7 separate regions of the Homo sapiens genome follow, and regions 1, 3, 4, 5, 6 and 7 are each linked to region 2. The links are contacts of gene promoters, found by promoter capture Hi-C in blood cells and fetal thymus (Javierre and others, 2016). All regions are on one chromosome and are shown on one strand. Each heading gives the region's core, a stretch centred on a gene start or on the middle of the fragment in contact. The rest is flanking DNA. Distances are from core to core; before and after follow the strand shown.

What was found. Contacts are between HindIII fragments. The CHiCAGO score rates a contact against its expected background, and 5 or more counts as called.
Region 1: a fragment that was not itself captured here is called in contact with the fragment with the promoter of MCPH1 in region 2 in 17 of 17 cell types (fetal thymus, total B cells, naive B cells and 14 more); the score reaches 35.7 in fetal thymus.
Region 3: a fragment that was not itself captured here is called in contact with the fragment with the promoter of MCPH1 in region 2 in 6 of 17 cell types (total B cells, fetal thymus, monocytes and 3 more); the score reaches 14.4 in total B cells.
Region 4: a contact is called between a fragment that was not itself captured here and the fragment with the promoter of MCPH1 in region 2, in 17 of 17 cell types (total B cells, fetal thymus, total CD4 T cells and 14 more). The highest score is 74.1, in total B cells.
Region 5: a fragment that was not itself captured here is called in contact with the fragment with the promoter of MCPH1 in region 2 in 1 of 17 cell types (erythroblasts); the score reaches 5.3 in erythroblasts.
Region 6: a fragment that was not itself captured here is called in contact with the fragment with the promoter of MCPH1 in region 2 in 14 of 17 cell types (naive B cells, fetal thymus, erythroblasts and 11 more); the score reaches 32.2 in naive B cells.
Region 7: a contact is called between a fragment that was not itself captured here and the fragment with the promoter of MCPH1 in region 2, in 4 of 17 cell types (total B cells, fetal thymus, total CD4 T cells and 1 more). The highest score is 9.6, in total B cells.

The regions. Positions count from the first base shown.
Region 1 is chr8:6,806,820-6,809,621 of GRCh38, forward strand. XKR5 (XK related 5) reads right to left here. Exons shown (of 7, transcript NM_207411.5): 7 at 1,698-2,802. LOC107986909 (a long non-coding RNA gene) reads right to left here and starts at 1,083. Exons shown (of 2, transcript XR_001745769.2): 1 at 496-1,083. The HindIII fragment of the contact is 2,234 bases long and covers 244-2,477 here.
Region 2 is chr8:6,404,893-6,407,876 of GRCh38, forward strand. It overlaps MCPH1 (microcephalin 1), which reads left to right and starts at 1,735. Exons shown (of 14, transcript NM_024596.5): 1 at 1,735-1,797. The coding sequence starts at 1,776. It overlaps MCPH1-DT (MCPH1 divergent transcript), which reads right to left and starts at 1,656. Exons shown (of 2, transcript NR_040040.1): 1 at 814-1,656; 2 at 1-228. RefSeq lists silencers at 1,477-1,556, 1,817-1,996. The HindIII fragment of the contact is 9,682 bases long and covers 1-2,984 here.
Region 3 is chr8:6,865,279-6,868,443 of GRCh38, forward strand. No RefSeq gene overlaps it. Among named protein-coding and RNA genes, the nearest start is that of DEFB1, 11 kb to the right of the region's middle. The HindIII fragment of the contact is 4,410 bases long and covers 1-3,165 here.
Region 4 is chr8:6,781,043-6,783,777 of GRCh38, forward strand. It overlaps LOC124901872, which reads left to right. Exons shown (of 3, transcript XM_047422507.1): 2 at 670-773. Among named protein-coding and RNA genes, the nearest start is that of MIR4659B, 37 kb to the left of the region's middle. The HindIII fragment of the contact is 3,638 bases long and covers 1-2,735 here.
Region 5 is chr8:6,020,471-6,023,624 of GRCh38, forward strand. No RefSeq gene overlaps it. Among named protein-coding and RNA genes, the nearest start is that of MCPH1-DT, 380 kb to the right of the region's middle. The HindIII fragment of the contact is 2,298 bases long and covers 521-2,818 here.
Region 6 is chr8:6,826,628-6,829,565 of GRCh38, forward strand. The region is part of intron 2 of XKR5 (XK related 5); the gene reads right to left. Among named protein-coding and RNA genes, the nearest start is that of XKR5, 7.4 kb to the right of the region's middle. The HindIII fragment of the contact is 429 bases long and covers 1,102-1,530 here.
Region 7 is chr8:6,896,085-6,898,841 of GRCh38, forward strand. No RefSeq gene overlaps it. Among named protein-coding and RNA genes, the nearest start is that of DEFB1, 20 kb to the left of the region's middle. The HindIII fragment of the contact is 1,709 bases long and covers 614-2,322 here.

The DNA of each region.
Region 1 (2,802 bases), core at 111-2,610, 400 kb after region 2:
CTCTGCACTAAGGACGGGATGGGCTGAAATGCAAACTCGGGTCCAGACATAGCTGGAAGATGAGTGACCCGCCGCTGGGACTCAGGAAAAGCTACTGTTTTGGTTGTGATCCAATAGATAATATTTAGGCTACCAAACATCTATAAAACTACCACTAATATGATGAAGAAAAGAGCAGTCCCGGAACTCTGGGACCTGGTCCGATGCTTAAGGCCGGCCCTGGTGTTCTCCTGTTGGCCACAAAGCTTCTCACAGGACACCTCTGTGAGAAGCCTCTGACGTGGCCACTGGAGACCGTGACACAGCAAGACCAAAGGTCACCATGCAACCACAAAACACCAGGCTCCCCCTTTCCCACTAAGTGAGTGATGACTGCTTCTTTACCCATGGCAGCTTTATGCTTGCTCGACTCCCTCCCTACAGATGCAACTGACTGCAATACCGGGTCACAGCATTGCCCCCAAACCTGAGTAGACCCGGCTTCCCTAGACTCACCCAGATTCACCCAGCAAAGCCCAAATCCTGTAACTCCTTTCCAATCTCCTTTCACTGAGCGGCCCCGCAGTCCCCCACGGTGTGCGTGCTTCTTTGCCGAGAAGAGTCATAAACCCAACTGGTTCAGTTACAGGGGGTTCCTGGTGGTCTTTGTCTGAAGGGCATTAGCACAGCTGTCTCCAGATGTCATGGTCGTGCTCTATGGGCCCAGCCATAAAGATCCAGATGGGGGCTAGTGAGGTCCAAAGCACCATCCAGTCCCTTCTCCCCAAGACAGCAGTCAGTATTCAGTCCTGGGAGCTGGTGACAAGGAGAAGGCCCTTCTTCCATCCCCACTGAGGTCCTCTGTGTCCTTCCACAGGCAGAGGCATGAGTTCTCCTGGGGTGAAGCGTCATGGATACTCAAGGCTGGTTATTGTGGATAATTGCAAAACCTGACCCATAGAGGCTCCACGAGAGCAGGGAGCCGACATGCTCGTCTTCAGGTCTCCCGATGCACTGGTTTTCATTCTCTGGTTCTTCCTTTCTTCTCAATAGTGAAAGTGGGCTGGGCACAGTGGCTCATGACTGCAATCCCAGCACATTGGGAGGCTGAGGTGGGTGGATCACCTGAGGTCAGGAGTTCGAGACCAGCCTGGCCAAAATGATGAAACGCCATCTCTACCAAAAAACAAACAAACAAACAAAAACAAAAAACAAAAAAAAAATGGAAAATGTCCTGGAACAGACTTGAAGTCTCCAGCTGCTGTGGCTCCTTGCTGCCCATGCGCAGCCACTGAAGCTCCAGGTCAGGACCTGGAAAGTCACTTTCAGCTGCATCTTCTAGTCCTCGAGGTTCCTTCTTAGTCATTTCACGAAGGGGCTCTTCTGGCTTTATGCACTTGTCTGCAGGGACAGCCTTGTCCACCTTTGGGTAACTCTGTCTTAAAGAACCTGTCTGGAGCCCTAAGGAGTTTCTTCATGGCTCATAAGAAACTGCAGGAAGAAAATAGAATCTCTCGCTACAGAACAGTGTCAGGTCCCTGAAGATGACAATCATGTCCTTGTTAAGCTGACCTTCTGTGGGTTCCTGCAGCCGTCTCAGAGGGGACTCCATAAAGCTCTCACCTGCTTCTCCCACTGACGCCGTGAGCACCTGTCACATTTCTTCTGTGTAGCTCTGTGATCCTAATGACTAGCATTTGATAGGTGCTCAGCAGGCATTTTTGAATTAAGTGTCCATTTATTAGTCTTCTCTAATAAATATAGTGTATATTTTCTGATCCTTTTCATCACCGGGCAATATGCTTTCTGGAGGCATGAAGTGAGGAAGCCATCTGAGAAGCCGATGTTGGTCCACAGGGCCTCGAACAGCAAGTACATGCCTTGATTTCTGCATACTCAGTGCCTGTCATACTCAACTAATATTCCTTAAATGAATGAATGAATGAAGAGTATTTCTAGCTTTCCAGGCTATTCAAGGGCTAGAAAGTTTGAAAAGAATGAGCAAATTCCCCATATCCCACCCTTACTTTTACCCCATAACACAAATGCCGTTGATCCAGGATATGCACTCAAGCTGAAATTCATGCCCACAGCCCCGCTCGTTAGTGAATTCATGCTGTTGAATGCTCTAACGCCTACTTTTGCTGGACACTCTGCTGGACCTTGGAGTTAGCCCAGAAGGAGGACTGCAACCCTTAATTAGCCTTCAGGGAGGCAGGGCTTCAAGTTTAGGAAGAGGTCACCAGAGGGCAAAGGGCAGTGGAATACAACCTGGGGACAGAGGGTAGGTCTGGGAGAGCTGGAGCTGGGGAGGGCCCAGGAAGGCACCAAGAGGAGATGTTTGAGTGGAGTCTTGGAGGACAAATGGGGAGGGCTGGTGAGGACTCAGGGAAGTGCTCATGCTCTCACCTGGCTGGGCGAGAGACTGCATGGAGGAAGGACTGAGATGCTGGGATAGCACAGTGAATGGAACTATGAATGATTTTGTTCTATTAACAAGCTTTTTTTTTAGATAGAGTCTTGCTCTGTCGCCCAGGCTGGAGTGCCATGGTACGATCTCAGCTCACTGCAACCTCTGCCTCCCAGTTCAACTGATTCTCGTGCCTCAGCCTCTCGAGCAGCTGGGACTACAGGTGTGTGCCACCACACCAGGATAATTTATGTATTTTTAGTAGTGATGGGGTCTCACTACATTGCCCAGGCTGGTCTCGAACTTCTGGCCTCAAGTGATCTTCCCGCCTCAGCCTCTCAAAGTGCTGGGATTACCGGTGTGAGCCCCTGCATCCGACCCAAAGTCTCGTTATCTTCACCTGTTGTATGGAA
Region 2 (2,984 bases), core at 485-2,984:
TGTAAGCACAAAGGAAATGCAGTAGAGACAAAAATAACTTTTTAATAAATGATGCTGGAACATTTGGATATGTATACATGCAAAAAAATGAACTTTGGTCCCTATCCCATACCGTATACAAAAATTAATTAAAAGCAGATCTTATCCTTTGAGTCCAGTAGGTTGAGGCTGCAGTGAGCTGTGATTACACCACTGCATTCCAGCCTGGGCAACGGAGTGAGAAACTGCCTGGAGAAAAAAAAAAAAAAAAGTAGAACCTAGACCTGATATACAACCTAAAGCAGTAATATTTCTAGAAGAAATCCTAGGAGAAAATATTTGTGATCGTGGAGATGAAGAATCTATCAAATACTAAACTTTTTTTACCACCTTGACCAAAAGTAATTGGTTTATATACTTCATCATATCATTTAATTCAAAATCTACAGAGATCAATGTCACTTTCTCAGTAAAAGTACGTGAGTCTTCAATGATGCCCTGAACTCACACTCCCAAGTAAACCATAACACCATATTTCCAGAGTAGAGTTTATTAGAACAATAACTGGTGATAATGATAAATATTGATCAAAGACTGAGCCTAGGAAGTGGGTTTTTTGAGGCTGCATATACTCAAGGCAATTCTTCAGAACCACAGAGGGCTCATTGGATCCTATTAAAAGCTGAGAGTGAATGAATAAACAGATAAAACAGAGACCTGAGTAGACGGTAGTCGATATTCTTTTACATGTATTCTACCTCTAGATTCCATAGAAAGAACTAAAAGTACATGAATTTCACTACCAACATCTCCATCAGTTACCAGCTGTATCACCTTGGATCAGTCAGGTAACCTCCCGCGAATCTGGTTGCTTCCGGGGCAGGGGATCCGCGGGCTGCAGGTTTGAGCCTGGTTGCCGGCAGGGTGGAGCAGCTGGAGGGCCAAGCCTTTGAGCTCCAGGGGGGGTGGCCGGGACAGTGGGTAGTGCCAGCCGATCGGCGTCCTGGGGATTGCCTGAATGTGAGGTCTGGGTTCACCCCGCGGTGACCTGAGTCCTGGGATGCCCCTACAGGGATTTGCTGCCTCAGGGATCCGAAGTCTCTTTCATTCCCTTACTGGGGATTTGAGGTCTGGAGGTACTCCTGCGGGGGTCTGAGATCTCGGGGTCACCCTGTGGGGGTCTGAAGCCTCGGGGTCCCCGCGTGGGGTCTGAGGTATCAGAGTCCCCTCCGTTGGGTCTGAGGTCTCGGGGTCCCCCATCCCCGGGATCGGAGGTCCGGCTCCCCGGAGCAGGCAGGGCGGTGCGTCTGGCCCTGAACAGTAACGTGGCGCGCCAGCCCCAGGTGGTGTCGGGCTAGGGGGGCATAACGGTGCCGAAAGTCCGCACAAAGCCGTCCGCTGGGGTCCCGCCGCGTCCGCGAGGGAATGACTGTGCCCCCTCCCCTTCCTGATCCTCAGCTCAGGTGAGCCCAGATGAGGCGCCGGGTAGCTTCTAAGTCACTAATGGAAATAGAAGGCTAATTCAGGGGTTAGGGGCCGTCGTCCTCCTTACTCCCAGGAGAAGAGAAAAACCCACGGCCCAGCAGCCAGAGGCGCGGCGAGGCGGAATCGGGCCCCCTCCCCGGGGGCTCAGCTCCCTCCAGCCTCCCGCCTCACCTACAGAGAAATCCCGGAAACGCGGATTCAGCGGAGCGCGGTGACGGCGGCGCGCTCACCCCGCGCATGCCCAGTGCCCGCGCGCGCCGCCAGGCTCGCAAGCACCGCGTAGGCCAGCTGGCCGGATCCCGCCGTCTGTCATGGCGGCCCCCATCCTGAAAGGTGAGGTACTTCCTGCTGCCTGCTCCAGCAGCGGGAGTTTGAGGACCGGCACCCCTCGTCGCGGGCGCACTCGGGGGATCCCGTGGGAGGAGCCCCGCTCGCCCCTCCCTCGCTGCCTGTCTCCCCCAGACCCCCTGCCGCCTCCTTCCTCCCCCGCTGCCTGTCCCACCAAAACCCCCTGCTCCTGCTCTCTCCCCCGCTGCCTGTCCCCCCAAAACCCCCGGCTGCCTGCTTCGTCTCCCGTGCTCCCTGTCCCCCCAAACCCCCGACTGCCTGCTTCCTCCCCCGTACTGCTTGTGCCCCAACCCCCGTGCTGCTAGTTCCCCTCAATCCCCCGCTGCCTGCTCCCTCCCCCATGCTGCCTGTCCCCCAAATCCCGCCTTTCCCCCTACCTGCTTTCACCCCTGCTGCCTTAGTCCCTGGATCTGGGGCTCACTGGCAGGCAGAGTCCTGCCCTCCGGAAGTTGGTGTGGGGCCCTCCTGGGTCTGGTCCTGTTCGACCCCCTCTGAGGCCCACCTGGAGGAGCGGCAGTTGAGTTTCTATGCTAATTGTTCCAATAATAGGAGCCGCCTTTTACTGCGGAGTCTTTGTGTGCCAGGCGCTGTGCTTAGGCTAGTATGGTATTGTCTGATTTTTTTAACCGCTCTATCAACTCTCTTATATCATTTTACAGGCAGAAACTAAGGCATCGGACGTTTAGGTGACTCTCCCTGTGTGTGGCTAGTCAGTGCTGACAGGGCCTTAGACCGGAGCTGCTGTCCTAACCAGTATATGATACCGCACGCAGTCCCACCCTCTGTGCACCTGGAAGAGCCCAGGAGAGGGGAATAGCGGACACGTGTCTTGTAGAGTTTGACCGTGAGAAAAAAGGGGCCTGTATTGTGGGGCCTGGAGTCATAAAACCTCATAGCCAAAAGTAAAGACTAGAGGCTTTATACAAAGTCTGTAATCAGATGTGGCTATTTTTCTAATGTTAGTATTTTGTTAAATTAACCTGGTTTTCTTTTAGCGTTACCCCCAATCATTGACCAACGGCACACCTGGAAAATGCTTTTAAACATCAGGTTTTGAGAAGAGGATATCCACTAGAACAGGGGTCCACTCACTATGCCCCCCAGGCCATATCTAGCCTGCTGCCTGTTTTTGTAAGGGTCTACGAGCTAAGAATGTCTTTTACATTTTTAAG
Region 3 (3,165 bases), core at 666-3,165, 460 kb after region 2:
ACTGTGTGCTGAGAGTAAGTGGGGTTCTGTCTGGGGGGCTGCAGAGACAGCAGAAAAAACTATCTTTAGAGTCCCTTACAGGAGACCTGTTTTTGTGACTTGTCTGAAGAAGACCAGTCAGGTCAGACTTGACTAAGCCCAGGAGCAATCATTTCGGCAGTTCCCGCGTGTTTATCAGTGAACCTGGTTTTTAGAAAACAGCAAAACAAAACTGAAACAAAAACAAAATCAGAAACCCAATTAAGCAAGACTCTTTACTTACCTCCGTAGGTGTCTGGTCTCTACAGGTAGAATGAGTCCAGGGAGCTGGGAGGGGGCAGTGATGACACCTCTCTGCATGTCTGGTCTGATGTCAGTTACAATAATCAAACACGGGCCGGGCACAGTGACTCACGCCTGTAATCCCAGCACTTTGGGAGTCCGAGGAGGGTGGATCACAAGGTCAAGAGATCGAGACCATCCTGGCCAACATGGTGAAACCCTGTCTCTACTAAAAATATAAAAATTAGCTGGGCGTGATGACAGACGCATGTGATTTCAGCTGCTTGGGAGGCTGAGGCAGGAGAATTGCTTGAACCTGGGAGAAGGAGGTTGCAGTGAGCCGAGATCATGCCACTGCACTCCAGCCTGGTGACAGAGCAAGACTCCATCTCAAAAAACAAAAACAGAAAAAAACAAAAATAATAATAATCAAACACACAGCAGGACCCCTGGCCAGCTGGGGAGGGGGCCAGTGTGGGTGCGTCTTCCTGGGGCCAGCCTAGGAGAAAGTGCTTTTCCTGGGTGTGTGCCCAGGTCACCTGGCTGTGGGACATGCTTCAAGGAATGGGTCTGCCAGGTCACAGTGTTCCTGGACCAAACTGTGGGTCAGGCTGCTATTTCTTGTGGCCCAATAATGAGAGGCCAATGAACTGGGGAGGAAGAGAGTTTTTATTTCTGTAACCAGTTACAGGAAGAAGGCCTGGAAATGATAACCAGACCAACTCAAAATTACACAGTTTTCCAGAGCTTATATACCTTCTAAACTGTAGGTCTACATGTAAGTGTGCACTCATCGAAAGACATAAGTGATTAACTTCTTTTAATCTATAACTAAGGTCTCCATCCTGAAGACTTTCTTCTGGATCCTCAGTAAATTTACTTAATCTAAATGGGTCTAGGTGGTGGGGTGATTACCCTTATCTTGTCTCCTGATGAATCATAAAGGTTTGGGGAGTTCTGTAGACCCCAACAAACTTGTCTATGGAGGCCTGGGGGGTTTATTCAGACCCCCAGTAAAACTTGTTTAAACTTGAAGGTCCTGTTAAGAATCCCTTCATTATCTTGTCATGCTCCAAGGCCCACGAAAAGCCTAGAGAAAACTTTTGGTGGGCTCGTTGTTACATTCCAGCCTTTGTATAAGGGCACTGGCTCAATTAGCTTTAATGTTTAATGTAGCTGCTCAGTCAGTGCTGGGACAGTTGTAAGGGAGGCCTACATTAGTGAGACCTGGCCCACCACAACAGGGCAGCAAGGGAGGCAGGGGAGAACCAAGTAAGGTGAGGCTGAGATGGGGGGTCAGTCCCCAGCCCCATGGTGGACCTCTGGTCCTCCTGCACCTGGGTGAGCTCCAGCGAGAGCCAGGTGGCTTTCCTCTAGAGAAGAGCCTGTAACCCCTCCTGCTATGGGAGTCTCCTCCTCCTCTTCCAGGTCTTGTGGATGATGACCAGCGGGGTGATCCCCAGTGGGCACCAGTGTATTTGCCTGTCAACAAGGGAACAAGCGAATCAAGTCCCTGTGTGGTTCACGGAGGGGGAAGATCAGGTTTCACTTGTAAAGAATGGCGGGTGCTTGCACTTGGAGACTATGCCAGTGAATGTGGAGGGCTGCACCCTGACTAGGCAGCAACAGGGTCTTTAGTCTGCACACATTTGGTTAAAACATTCTACGCTGTTCATTTTTCAGAAAGGAGTCTTCCTTTAGGTGAATGAGGCACTGTCGGAGTCACTCTGAGTTCTGAGTCACCGTTCAGTCTGGGCTGGTTGGAAGAAATTGGGTTGAATCTCAGCATTCAGGTTTGACATGTTCTGGGCAAGGACTGCTCTAAATGGAAACTTTTCCCTTTCTGTTCCTTAAGGATGTGAAGAACCCAGCAGCCTTTCCTGAGGCTGTGTCTTCTGTGCACAGCATCTACTAAGGCCATTCAAAAACACCCCTCCATGGATCTTAAAGCACCCCCTTTTTCCCTTAGGAGGGGGAGTTCTGCAGCTCCTTAAGCTAAAGCCAGATGGATGCAACTAAGAGAGAAGAGAGAACTCCATGCTGCCCCCTTGGTGAATAGGCTGGGCCCAGCATGGTGCAGTCCTTAAAGAGGACCACGGTGGATGAGATGAAGCCACCAGGGCACTGTGTGTACAGAAACAGCAGGAATCAAAATGCCATATACCCGATGAGTGCAATGATGAAACAAAAAATTTATGTGCCGACTCAGATTGGAGAAGTATACTGGGAAAAACAGGCCAATAGTAGATTTGATTGGAAGAGTAGTATTTTGAGCAATTTTTGTTATAGCACTGTTTTGTATTTTGACTGATTGTGACAAGCGTGTATTTTTCTGCTGATATTTGTGGGTTCTCAGGCTTTCGTGGCATAAAACAACCTTGATCAAAAATGTGAATGGTATAAGAAGTTAGTGAATCAGCTTTCATGCCTGTCCAGAACAGAACAAAGGGGCACCCACATGACAGCTCACTAAATTTCTTTTAAAAACCTGTTGTCTTCCAAGATTTGGGACTAATAATAAAAAAGCCTCAAGTGGCTTTTGTTCATAAATTACCATCAGTCCGTGATCTAACAGAAGAGATAAAGGCAGGGGAATAACTATTTCTCCCAAGGCTTTTTATTATTGTGATTTTAAAAAACTATTATTTTTCAATATTTTGGATAGTTCATGTATTTTCAGAAGAAAGCAGCCATGAACAAGTGTATGTATATTGGGAGTTAACTGGAAATATCCATTTTCATGGAAGTTCTCCTTCTAAACAATGGACAGAATCAGGTCTATCCCCTAAACCAGAGGTTGGAAAACAATGACCTTTGGCCAAATCTGGCTTGCTGCCTGTTCTTTTGAACACAGTTTTATGGAAGCACAGCCACTCCCATTTACTTATGTGTCAGACAAGGATT
Region 4 (2,735 bases), core at 100-2,599, 380 kb after region 2:
CCCCGACGACCGAAACACCTCTCCCCAAGCCTCACCTCCAACATTGGGGATCACATTTCAACATGAGGCTTGGAGGGGACACACATCTGTACCATGTCACACTTCCCCAATCTCACAGCCCAGGAATTTGGGTCAGTCCTTCCCATCGATCTATGACTGTCTTTTGCATGACTGGGGGCTTTCTGAGGAGAAAGGGATGTCCCCCCAACAAATGGCTTAGATGGAGCCGACACATGGTGGGGGAATCGGTTTTTGCTCCTCGCAAAAACAGGTATTTCTGCTTTCTCTTTGGGCACCCAAGGAAAGATATTTGCTGCAAACACAAACCAAAAAGACGGTGTCCAAGAGCTGCAGAGAAGGGGCATCACAGCACCCCAAGCCTTTGAGTCCTGTGGTGTTTGGGGATTTCAGAAGCCACAGACATGGAGAAAATGTCCCACATGACTCTCTTTCCAGTCATTCCTTTGCTTTCACAGGATGAGAAATAATGCTCCTGAATGCACATGGCAAGGTCTGAAGAAGGTCTTGGGAAGAAATGTGCTGTGGAATGTTATTAAAACGTGGTTTGAGCCCACGTCTCTATGGATATGCATAGTCCCACATATGAACATGATGCTTAGATCATTATTCTTGGGCTTACTATTAATAGTAAAGTGTGTCCATTTCCAGGTTGATCGAAGCTGGCAGAGGATAGAAGAGCTCTGTGGCCGAGTGAGCTGTTTCTGGAGCCAGATGAGTCTTTGGCAGAGCCTGAGGTCCCCTGCTACTACTGGGTGAGTCTCTCTGAGCCTTGGTTTTCTTATTTGCAAAATGTGAGACGGTAACAGTCCTTTTCCTGTGGCTTGTTGGAAAAATCAAGTGAAAGAGTGTATCATGTCTGGCACATCGTGTGCTAAATAAAGTTTGCAATTATTATCTGAAGACAATAGAACTCACTCAAAGAAGTCCCAGGAAATCAATGTAGATTTTTTTTTAACTTTAAGACCTGGATACATGTGCAGAATGTGCAGGTTTGTTACATAGGTATACATGTGCCATGGCGGTTTGCTGCACCCATCAACCCATCATCTAGGTTTTAAGCCCTGCATGCATTAGGTATTTGTCCCAGTGCTCTCTCTCTCGTTGTCCTCCAACCCTCAAGAGGCCCCAGTGTGTGATGAATCAAAACCACAGTGAGATATCATCTCATGTCAGTCAGAATAGCGATTATTAAAGTCAGGAAACAATAGATGCTGGCGAGGCTGTGGAGAAATAGGAACACTTTTACACTGTTGGTGGGAGTGTAAATTGGTTCAACCATTGTGGAAGTCAATGTGGTGATTCCTCAAGGATCTAGAACCAGAAATACCATTTGACCAGCAATGTCATTATTGGGTATATGCCCAATGTAAATTTTTAACAGGGAGGTTTTTTCGTCGAAAACTATCAACTTTAGGCTAAAAGCAAGAATTGTTTTATTTTTCTTTTTTTGGCTCAGTTTTTCATTAGAAAAGAAACCTCCCCAAATGTAAGGAAGCAAATGAATGAAAGGAAAATTACAACTGTGGGGAGTCATTACATTGGAAGGCCTCTCTTGGGACAGCGTGAAATAGAATTGCTCCATTGCTGCAGCCACGAAACCATTAGAGAATGCCCCTCCCGGGACCGGACAAACTGATGCAGGCTAATTTTCCATGGGTGATGTCTGCATAGCTGCGGGGATGGGTCCTATTGGCCTCTGAGGCCTGTGTTTAAGTGACTGCTGTCTTTCCACTTGGAAAATCCCATTTGAATATGGGAATCACGGCCATGGAATCCTTCACATCTCGTGATGGTCAGGCGCACTTCCTATTTCATTGCCCTGAAGTCCCAGCGGCAAAAGGCATTGACCTGTTGAAAACATGAAGGTCAGTCTGATATAACCAGAGCTTTTCTGAACCCCAGCCACTGGAAAACCTTGCTGGTACGATACCCATCCATTACCATTACTGGTACTACGGCTCCAGGAATGAACAGAATTTAGCCTTTGCATGGGCAACATGGCTCAAAGAGCCCTGGATTCAGGGTCAGAAAACCTGGTTTTAAATCCTGTTTTACAGACTGTGTGATCTGCAGAAAGTTCTTCTTTCTCACCTCCATGCATTTTTATATAAAATGGGGTAATAAAAATATCTAGGGGGTTACAAGTAAGGAAAAAAGGTATATGAAGTTTTGTTGTACAATGCTTATGTATATATGGATGCATAATGTATATATACATACATATATACACATTAAGCATTGTACAACTGATATAAAATATATTATGTCTGTCTCCAGAGGACAACGTAGGTCACTAGCAAGATGGGAGAACGTGATTCGGCCAGTCCAGCTAGCATTCATTTTCTCAAACAGATTTTAAAAACTGCTATTGCCTTCTGAGGCTTTAACTTCTTCATTCTAACAGAGTCTATTATTGTTAGGATGAAATAATTCTTCAATTATTGAACAATGACAAACCATTGCCTCCCACTAATCTACCTTTGTGGAGTTTCATCCATGCAACGAACAATTATTTACCAAACTCTTTTGTTTTTTTTTTTTTTTTTTTTTTTTGAGACGGAGTCTGGCTCTGTCACCCAGGCTGGAGTGCAGTGGCTCGATCTCAGCTCACTGCAAGCTCTGCCTCCTGAGTTCACGCCGTTCTCCTGCCTCAGCCTCCCAAGTAGCTGGGACTACAGGTGCCCGCCACCACACCCGGCTAATTTTTTGTAGTT
Region 5 (3,154 bases), core at 420-2,919, 380 kb before region 2:
AAGGCCCTGAAGGCCTGACCCATGTGGGATGTCCTAATAAATCGGGGACTGAAAATGTGTTAGTCACTTCCTAAGCACAGATGTGCTTATGTTTCTGATAGATAAGACTGCAGTCTTTATTACTTTAATATTGCATCTCTTGACTCAGAACACAAAGCCCTCAATATCTGAGGGTTTACAATAATTCTCAATAGCATTTAACCTGGGCACCAACATAGTAAGTAGTTTCTAGGACACCTTCTGCCTCTGTCTTCCCTCTCTCCTCTCTCTTTCTCTCCCTCTCTCTCTGCCTCTCTCTCTTCCTCATCCTCCTCTGTCTCCCTCATCCTCCTGTCTCTGTCTCATTCTGCACCTTCTCCCGCCCAGTTTGTCCCAGGGGCTCATGCTCCTTAGTACCTGCTGGTTTGGGTTTTCTTGATGGTGTTGTTGCTGCATCCCCTGCCCACAGTCTTTTACTCTTTTCAGGTCTTTTTCTCCACTCCACATCCTTTATCCTACTGTCCTTTGTAAGATGAAGACAAGCTTCCTTTCCAGGTAATGGCAACTCCTCCTGTAGTCCCCAAAGGAGTGTGTTTTTTTCACTCATGCCAAGACCTCTCTGAAGAACTTGAAAAGTCTGCAGAGCATCCTGGAAGGGGCCTTCAAATGCACTTGCTGCAAATGGTCAACCTGTTCCCTGATTATTTTTCCCTATCTCTTACCAGCAACTGTGGGAGTGGGGACAGGGCTTATATACCAACCCATTTTTAACCTATGAATCTCAGGACCTGTGTTAGTCTGTTCTCACACTGCTAGAAAGACACAGCCGAGACAGTAATTTATAAAGGAAAGAGGTTTAATTGACTCACAGTTCTGCATGACTGGGAGGCTTCAGGAAACTTACAATAATGGAGGAAGGTGAGAGAGAAGCAAAGGCATGTCATACATGGCGCAGGTGAGAGACAGTGAGCAAAGGGAGAAGAGCCCCTCATAAAACTATCAAATCTCATGAGAACTCACTATCACAAGAGCAGCCAGGGGAAAACCAGCCCCACGAGTCAATCACCTCCCACCAGGCCTTGCCCTCAACACATGGGGTGATGGGGATTAAAATTCGAGATGAGATTTGGATGGGGAAAGGGAGCCAAACCATATCAGGACCCAACTATCACTCCAAATCCCTCATCATTCTAAGCCCTGGGGCTCTCTTGCAGATAAGATACCAGGTAGCCCACCCTGATGTCCCAAGAGTCCTGTGGGAGACAAGAATATTAAGACTTAGCTATGACCTCACAACCCTGGAAAGCTGCCAGAGACTGTGCATTCTTTGTGCTCACCATGGCAGCAGGGTATTTACAGCCACTGCTGTGCAAGAGGGCATACTGGAGCTGATTTGGGTTTGTAAATGATGACCAAGTTTGCAGCAAGAAGGCTTTGAGGATGTAATCGATCTAGACAGGTGGATCTCGCAGGAGGCAGAAAAGAGATGAAGCTGACAGAGCGGTCAAAGCATAAAGGGGAGAAGGAACATGGCGCAGAGAAGCAGAAGTGCTTGCAACAGGGGCTCCAAGTGAATCACAATGATATTGATGATTGGGAAAAAATAAGTGAGAGAGACAAAGCGGGACTAGAATGCTGAGCCTGAAAATGTGAAGAAACAGCTATTTATTGGATGAGGTGAGAAAAATAGACAGTAATAATTAATTTTAGAGCAGGAAAGTGACATGATAAAAGTAGTGTTGTAAAAATATTAACACCATACAATCATCTAGAATGCATTCCAAGTGGGAAGACTTTTCAAGAGACCACAAAAATAATCCAAACTTGAAAAGGAGCTCAACTTTAATGGCAAAAGCAAGCATGGAAAGAAGAAAATAAATCCAAGAGAAATTTTTTAAAGAAGAAATTTCCAACTAATTTGTAATGAAATAAGTATAGGGTAAGAGAGATTATCACCTCCTAAGTTTAAGAAACATCCCACAGAACAGTTCTGGATTCATTATACCATTAACGGGAGAAAGTACTATATTCTTGTTTCTTTTGGGTGGCCGAGCACAAGAACAAAACCGTTCCTATAGTTCTTAATGTTGCCTACCGATTTAACATTTCTGGCATTTTCAATATTGCATCAGAAATTCTCTATGTCATATGTTATGTAGAAAAAGAAGTTTATTATTTCTCCAGTTTATCTACAGACAATGAGCCTATTGTATTTATATCTTCACTTCTGTTTTACTTTCAGAGTTTGCACCTGAATATTCAGGACTATTCAGTCAACACAGGCTGGTGGGTGGTAAATGTAATGTCATTTCATGATACATTTGAGAGTAGTATTTTCTCCCTGAAAAATTGAATAAAAGGCATACAAGGACATCCGGCTCTGATTTTAAATTCAAATGATAAACCTGCTGCAATGTGTATATTAAAAAAGAATACACTGTATTCTTCAACTATAGCTTATATGATTTCTCTTTCTTCATTTCACATCATTCTTCCATTTCACATAATCGCAATATCCTTCATATGACAATTCAGTAGAATCTTTCAATTCCAAAGTCAATGGAGATGGTCACATAAAATATCTCTGACTGTCAAAATTGCTCTAAGATTGTTTATGGCTACATTTGCCCCTGGCCAAGCAATCAGTTGAGAATTTGAGCATCAGGATATGTCGCTGCTAAAATGTTTATGGTAATATCTGGATTTGTGCAATTAATCATTATATAACCCTCACTTTGTAACTCTGAGATTCAAAGGAATACGCTAATACCTGAGTCTGATTCCATCCCCAGTCTTGTCCTGGAATACACAGACGGTAACAACAGTAGCGCTGAATCAAAGCTTTATGTAGTGGAAGGCACTGAGCACAGCCATTTCTATGAATTGTCTGATTTAATACTCTAACGACACCATGTTGGGTACTACTTCAATCTTCTCTTTTACAGAACTGAATCATAGAGTTTCAGTAACTTCTCCAGGAATACTTGCTAGCAATCTACACATGATTCACTGATGTAAGTCTTGTGAGTGAGTTGTACACAGAACACTATCGGTGCTCCGAGAAAGACAAAGACAACAGCAATACACAGGAAGACATCCCAGGGTGACGACATATGAGCTGGGTGCTAGCAGACTTTGGATTTCTAGGGAAACACAACAGTAGTCCAAGATCTTG
Region 6 (2,938 bases), core at 66-2,565, 420 kb after region 2:
TCTTCAGCAGTGAGGAATGTGAGGATGGGTGGAGCCCCCATAAGGAGAGATCTGGATGACCAGTTGTGGTTGAGGGACTGGAAGTGGCCAGAAGAGACTGTGTGAAGACAGCATAGACCAAGGACAGCACCCTGGGGACTGTTCCCACTAAGGGGCCTGGATACGAAAGGGACACCAGCAAGGGTGGGTGGAAGCCGAGAACCAGGCAGCGGAGAGAGCTGCTGATCTCTGCACTGTGGATTACAGGATGGGGTGGCCCAGGGCCACGGGGACACATCTGCTCACCCAGCCTGGGTGGTCCTCCGAGGCTCTCGGAAAAGGAATCAAGCAACAAGAAAGAAGTCAGAACATGTCCTTGCTTCAGTCTGTTTCCCATGAGCCTATGCCAGGCACCTTTACTGGAAACTTCATCTCATAAGTAGAAAGTGGCACAGACCACCTTCCTTACAACCTGAAGATCCACATAGAACCCATGACCACGAAGCCACTCCCCACCACACCAGCGGGCTCTCAGGCTTCGAGTCTCACCTGGAGGTCAGATTTCGCCACCACCCACCAATTCCTCTCTGGGTCTACCTAGCAGCAGCAATAAGGAGATGACCACAGCCGCCTGCACACGAGCCTGCTGCCCAGCAAACCCACTGGATTCTGCTTCCCTGTCTTGTTCAATTTAAGAACTAGAGGTCACTTCAATTTAGCAACTCCTGAAGCCAAGCTGGATGCATCTCGAAGGTCACCTGCAAAACTCCCTGTAGAGACCCCTAAGGCTCTGACTGGCAGGTGACAAGCTGGACCCTGATGGGTGGCAAACATTTCTATGTCCAGAGCAGAAGATTCGGGGACTCCTCTTTGAAATGGCTTTATTCATGGTGCTGAGATCCCAGGACAGATGTCTAAGAAAAACAACTTTCCTTTTTCATGATTTGGAATCCTGGAGTGAACCCATTTCTTACTGTGTCTTGATTCCTGACATAAACTTAATGTTAAGAAAAACATATGACACTAAAAAATGTAACCATGAGGGCAGGCAGTAGTTTTCTTTTCACTCTCAAATCATTTGTTCCTGACATGGGGTAGTTTCCTCTTCTTGCTCTTCCAGAAAGCTTTGTTTGTTCAACATGCATTTTTCTTGGGCTTTGAGAGGCCCACCTGCTACAGACCACAGGCGAAGTAAGAGAAATGAATCCCAGCTTTTTGGGAGGCCAAGGCAGGAGGATTGCTTGAGCTTGGGAGTTTGAGACCAGCCCTGGCAACATAATGAGACTCCATGTCTACAAAACAAAACAAAACAAAGAGCTGGGATAGTGGTGGGTGCCTGTAGTCCCAGCTACTCAGGAGGCTGAGATGGGAGGATCACTTGAGCCCAGAAGTTCAAGGCTGCAAGTGAGCCATAATTATGCCACTGCACTCCAGCCTGGGTGACAGAGGCAGAAGACTCTCGTGAAAAAAAAGAAAAGGGGGGAAGTGAAATGAAAGATGTCTTTTAGAAACCTAAGATTCAGTGTGGAAAGAAAACATACAAATGCGAAAAGCTTCAAGAGGAAGAAATATAAGTATCAACATGAGTGGCTTGGGTAGTGGTGGAATCAGAGTCACAGGCAGAGAGAATAAGGTGGTCAGGGAATGCTTCCTGGAAGAGGAGGACAGGCAAACTCTGGACAGGTAGATGGTAGGAAGAGCCTAAAGGAGTGTCTGGGGTCAGTGGCACAGGGTACAAGGCACTGAAATGAAGGTCCATGTCTGGGAATAGCGAATATCTGGTGCTTGGTAAGGCGGGGGCCAGGAGAGGCTGAGTTGTGGGGCTACTCTTGTAAGAAACAGAGGACCAGTGGGAAGGTGACTAGCCCGGTTTTCTGAAACGAGCTGTCTCGAACCCATTGCAGAGGGAGAAATTCAGGCTGAGACCCCTGGACAGCCACTAGGGAAGCCGGGGAGGAAGCTGAGGCGGGATGGAGAGCGTGGGGATTTGGTCACTAGGTCCTATGAGATGGTGTCCGACATCTGTCCTCACAGTCGCTGCATCATTCCAGGTCCTTATCAGCACTTGCCTGGATTTCTGGCTGCCTGCATGGACCCCGTCCCTCCCAACTCTGTTGCATTTTATTGTCCCTGGTGCCATCTGTCTACAGGCTCATTTGCCCATATTATTCCTTTGCTCAAACCCTTCCAACAGGTCTCCAATGCCTGAGGATAAAATCCAAACTCCTTAATCCAGTAGAAAAGTTTCTTCATGGTCCAGCCCATTTATCTCCTGCCACATTCCTGCCATCTAGGAAATTCTTACCCTTTAGTCTCAAGAACCTCATCCTAATTTCCCATATACACCACTTCTGGCACGCATCTATGTCTTTGCACCAGCGGCTGCAGCTTGCTGTGTCGGAAACGCCTGTTCCCTCCCTACATTGATGGAAATCGCAACAGCCTTCAAGCCTCACTCGAGGGATCCTGAGGCAGGACTGGGCCCTCCAGGGCTAGGGCTATATTTTATATACTTTTAAATATTAAATCTCCACCCATTTATGCTGAACCTGTCTTACATACCTTTAGAGTTTACCTTAACTTTCCTTTTGACAACCTTGAACTTTCACTAAAGAAAAATTGCTAAACCAAGGTGCATGCTAAGGATGAGATAGGCCTTCTTCTGTCATCTCATGCTGCATTTACAAGTGGATTTGTGGGCTTAAAAAGAAAGATGAAAAAGATGTTGGTAACATACAGTATTAAAGTGTAAGTAAAAAACCTAAGTAGAAGAAAGTAATGGTCTTTGTTTAAATAAGTGGTCACCAATGTCAGGTTCTCTTGAACAGAGTCAGACTTAAAATGAACATAGTATGTATTATTGGGAACGTTAAAAAGAATACACTTATGGCTTAAATCCTTGCCTTTTTATATTTATTTATTTATTTGAGATTGAGTCTCATTCTGTTGCCTAGGTTGG
Region 7 (2,757 bases), core at 218-2,717, 490 kb after region 2:
TGCCCCCCGTTAGCCGTCTCGGCTGGGGCTTCCTGTCCTGGCATGTTCGCACAGCATGTAAGAGGTCCTGTGGGACACACGCTCTCATATGATCACTGCCTCAGCCTGTGAGACTAGTATAGCAGATCCATCTTCCCCAAGGTCCCATTTTCTGGAGGTGGAAACTGATGTTCAACAGTGTGGACCGACTTGCCTTGTGTCTCCCAGCTACTGGGTCTGTAGATGCTGAGTCTTCTGGCTTCTGTTCCTGTGGTATTTCTGGGAGTCAAGGAAGGATAGGAAGAAAAGGTAAAGGAACAAGTAGGGAGGTGAGGAAAACACACCAGAGAACAGTGTGGAGAAGGAAGAATCCGACTCCTGGGGCTCATGGCCTGGCGTAAGAGCAGGTTGCTTCTGGGGCTGCCACCAGTTTACCCATGTGAAGGCAGACTTTGCTCCTAAGTCCTGGATCTCACTCACTGCAGGGTGGCTTCTGGGCAGCAGAGGCCAATGAGCTGGGCACAGAGACCAGGTCGGAGGCAAGTCTTGGCCCAGATCTTCACAAAATCCTGCCCTAACTCTACCTATGGACTTCAAAATTACAACTGCGTTTAAAAGTGTCCCAAACCAAGCAAGCTTTATTGTTTAACAGTATTGAGAGTAGGGTAATTCAGGATGTAATGGAACAGCTGTCTTATCAGGAAAAAGGGGGTGTACTCTCTCCCCCAATTTCTCCCTCCTACCTCTGTAAACCCTCATTTCCTCCTTACCGCCTACCAACCAGCATAGCTGCTTCCCAGCAAAGCCCGTGGAAGGCCAGGCTGGGTGCTGGATTCTGGGTCCCTACATGCTTAGTAAATCATCATGCACCTGCCATGTGAGCCCTGGCTTAGAGCCAGGCTTTCTCATCAAAGCAAACTGCTTGTGTTGTGTCCATAAGCGGCAAGCACTGCCAGACACTCCCAGCCATCTGGAAGAGCAAGCTGGATGCTCCCAGCAAGGCCCAACCAGAATCTTCACGGGGTGCCTTCGTGGCCTTGGTTCCTCGTTTATTAAGTATGAGTGTGGCCCTCATGAGTTCTAAGGTTTTTACCTTCCTCCTTTGGAATCTACGATCCAGAATGGGATCAGCTCCCTCCAGGAGAGTTTCATGCAGCCTGGAAACCTTCCTCACCTCCTGGCTTGGGTTATGGGACTAGGCTGCACCCTACAGCATGGCAGACCTGCAGACTCAGGAGGCTAAAACCCCGGTTACCCACTGTGAGGAACTGGGTGGTGTTAGGGGAGTTACCTAATGCTCTGTGCCTCAGTTTCCCCATTTGTGAGGTGGTGACAATAACCAGTATCTACTGCAAAATATTGTTGCAAGGATTAAATGTTGTTATGAAATCAGGATAGTGCCTGTCACCCAGCCAGCGATGGTGGGCCTTACTGTTTTTGCTGTTTTTGTAGGCACCTGGAGGCTCACACTCCTTGAAGGTGGGCACTTCATCTCAATCATCTTTGGATTCCTACTCCCTGTACTTGTGTGGGCCACCCTGGGCTCCCAGCAATGTCCCTGAGCTGGGGTCGACTGCCCTTCCACCTATTCTAGGCCTGCTGTGTACCCCTGGTTGAGTATTTATCCCATGCTCAGAGCACTGGAGCTGCTGTGAATCATAGGACTTGTTGGATACCACCCTGGGCTAGGATATCTGTCATTCTCATCATACAACAAACATGTTTATATATCAAATGCAAATACCAGGTGTAGATATTTTCATTTGTGTGATCGTGGAATTTGCTAACATTCATATATTAAACAGTGACTCCACTAGCCAGTGATGCAGTGAAATGAAGGCACTGGATGGAGCAGTTGCGCTGCTGCGTCTTGGAGGGATAGGATAGCAAGTGTGCTGCTGTGGTGAGACCTCCGTTTCCTCCTGGAGATGGCAGCTGAGCTAGGCCTTCACCTGGGATGCCAGGTGTTTTGGTGTCAGGGACTGAGGGAATGCTCTTGGTAGGGGTTGCTCAATGCTTTCAAATTTTCACAGGTTCCCAGGTTTGTCTCTAGACACACAACCAGCAGTTTGGTTTCTGTCATAGAGAGAAAGGACTTGTGAGCCAGTGGTACCCCTGGCTGTACTCTACAGCCATGACTCCAACCCTCCCCGAAACCATCTCCACTGCACCTTCCCGGTGGTCTGCTCAGGACACTGGAGAGATGACAGGCTTTGAACAAAGGCTCAGGTTTCCGGCTTGAAAACAGCCTTGCTGGAAAGCAGCAGCACCCTCACTGGGGCAAGAAACTCCATGGGCCCAATCTTTCCAGTTGTGGCATCACCATCACTCTTGACTTCTGTAAGCTTTTCTTAAGATCTGACCCTCACAAACAGACAAATAAAAGCAAACATTTATTTCTTGTGCCATATACTTTTTTCTGGTAATATACATATATATGTATGTATATGTATATATACACACATATATATGTATATATACACATATATAACATATATCATATATGTGTATATGTACACATACACATACACACACACATATATGATATATATCACATATGTTACATATTATATTACATGTATGTATATATTATATATTATATATTATATATATTATATTATATATTATATATATTATATTATATATTATATATATTATATTATATATTATATATATTATATTATATATTATATATATTATATTATATATTATATATATTATATTATATATTATATATATTATATTATATATATAATATATATTATATTATGTATTATA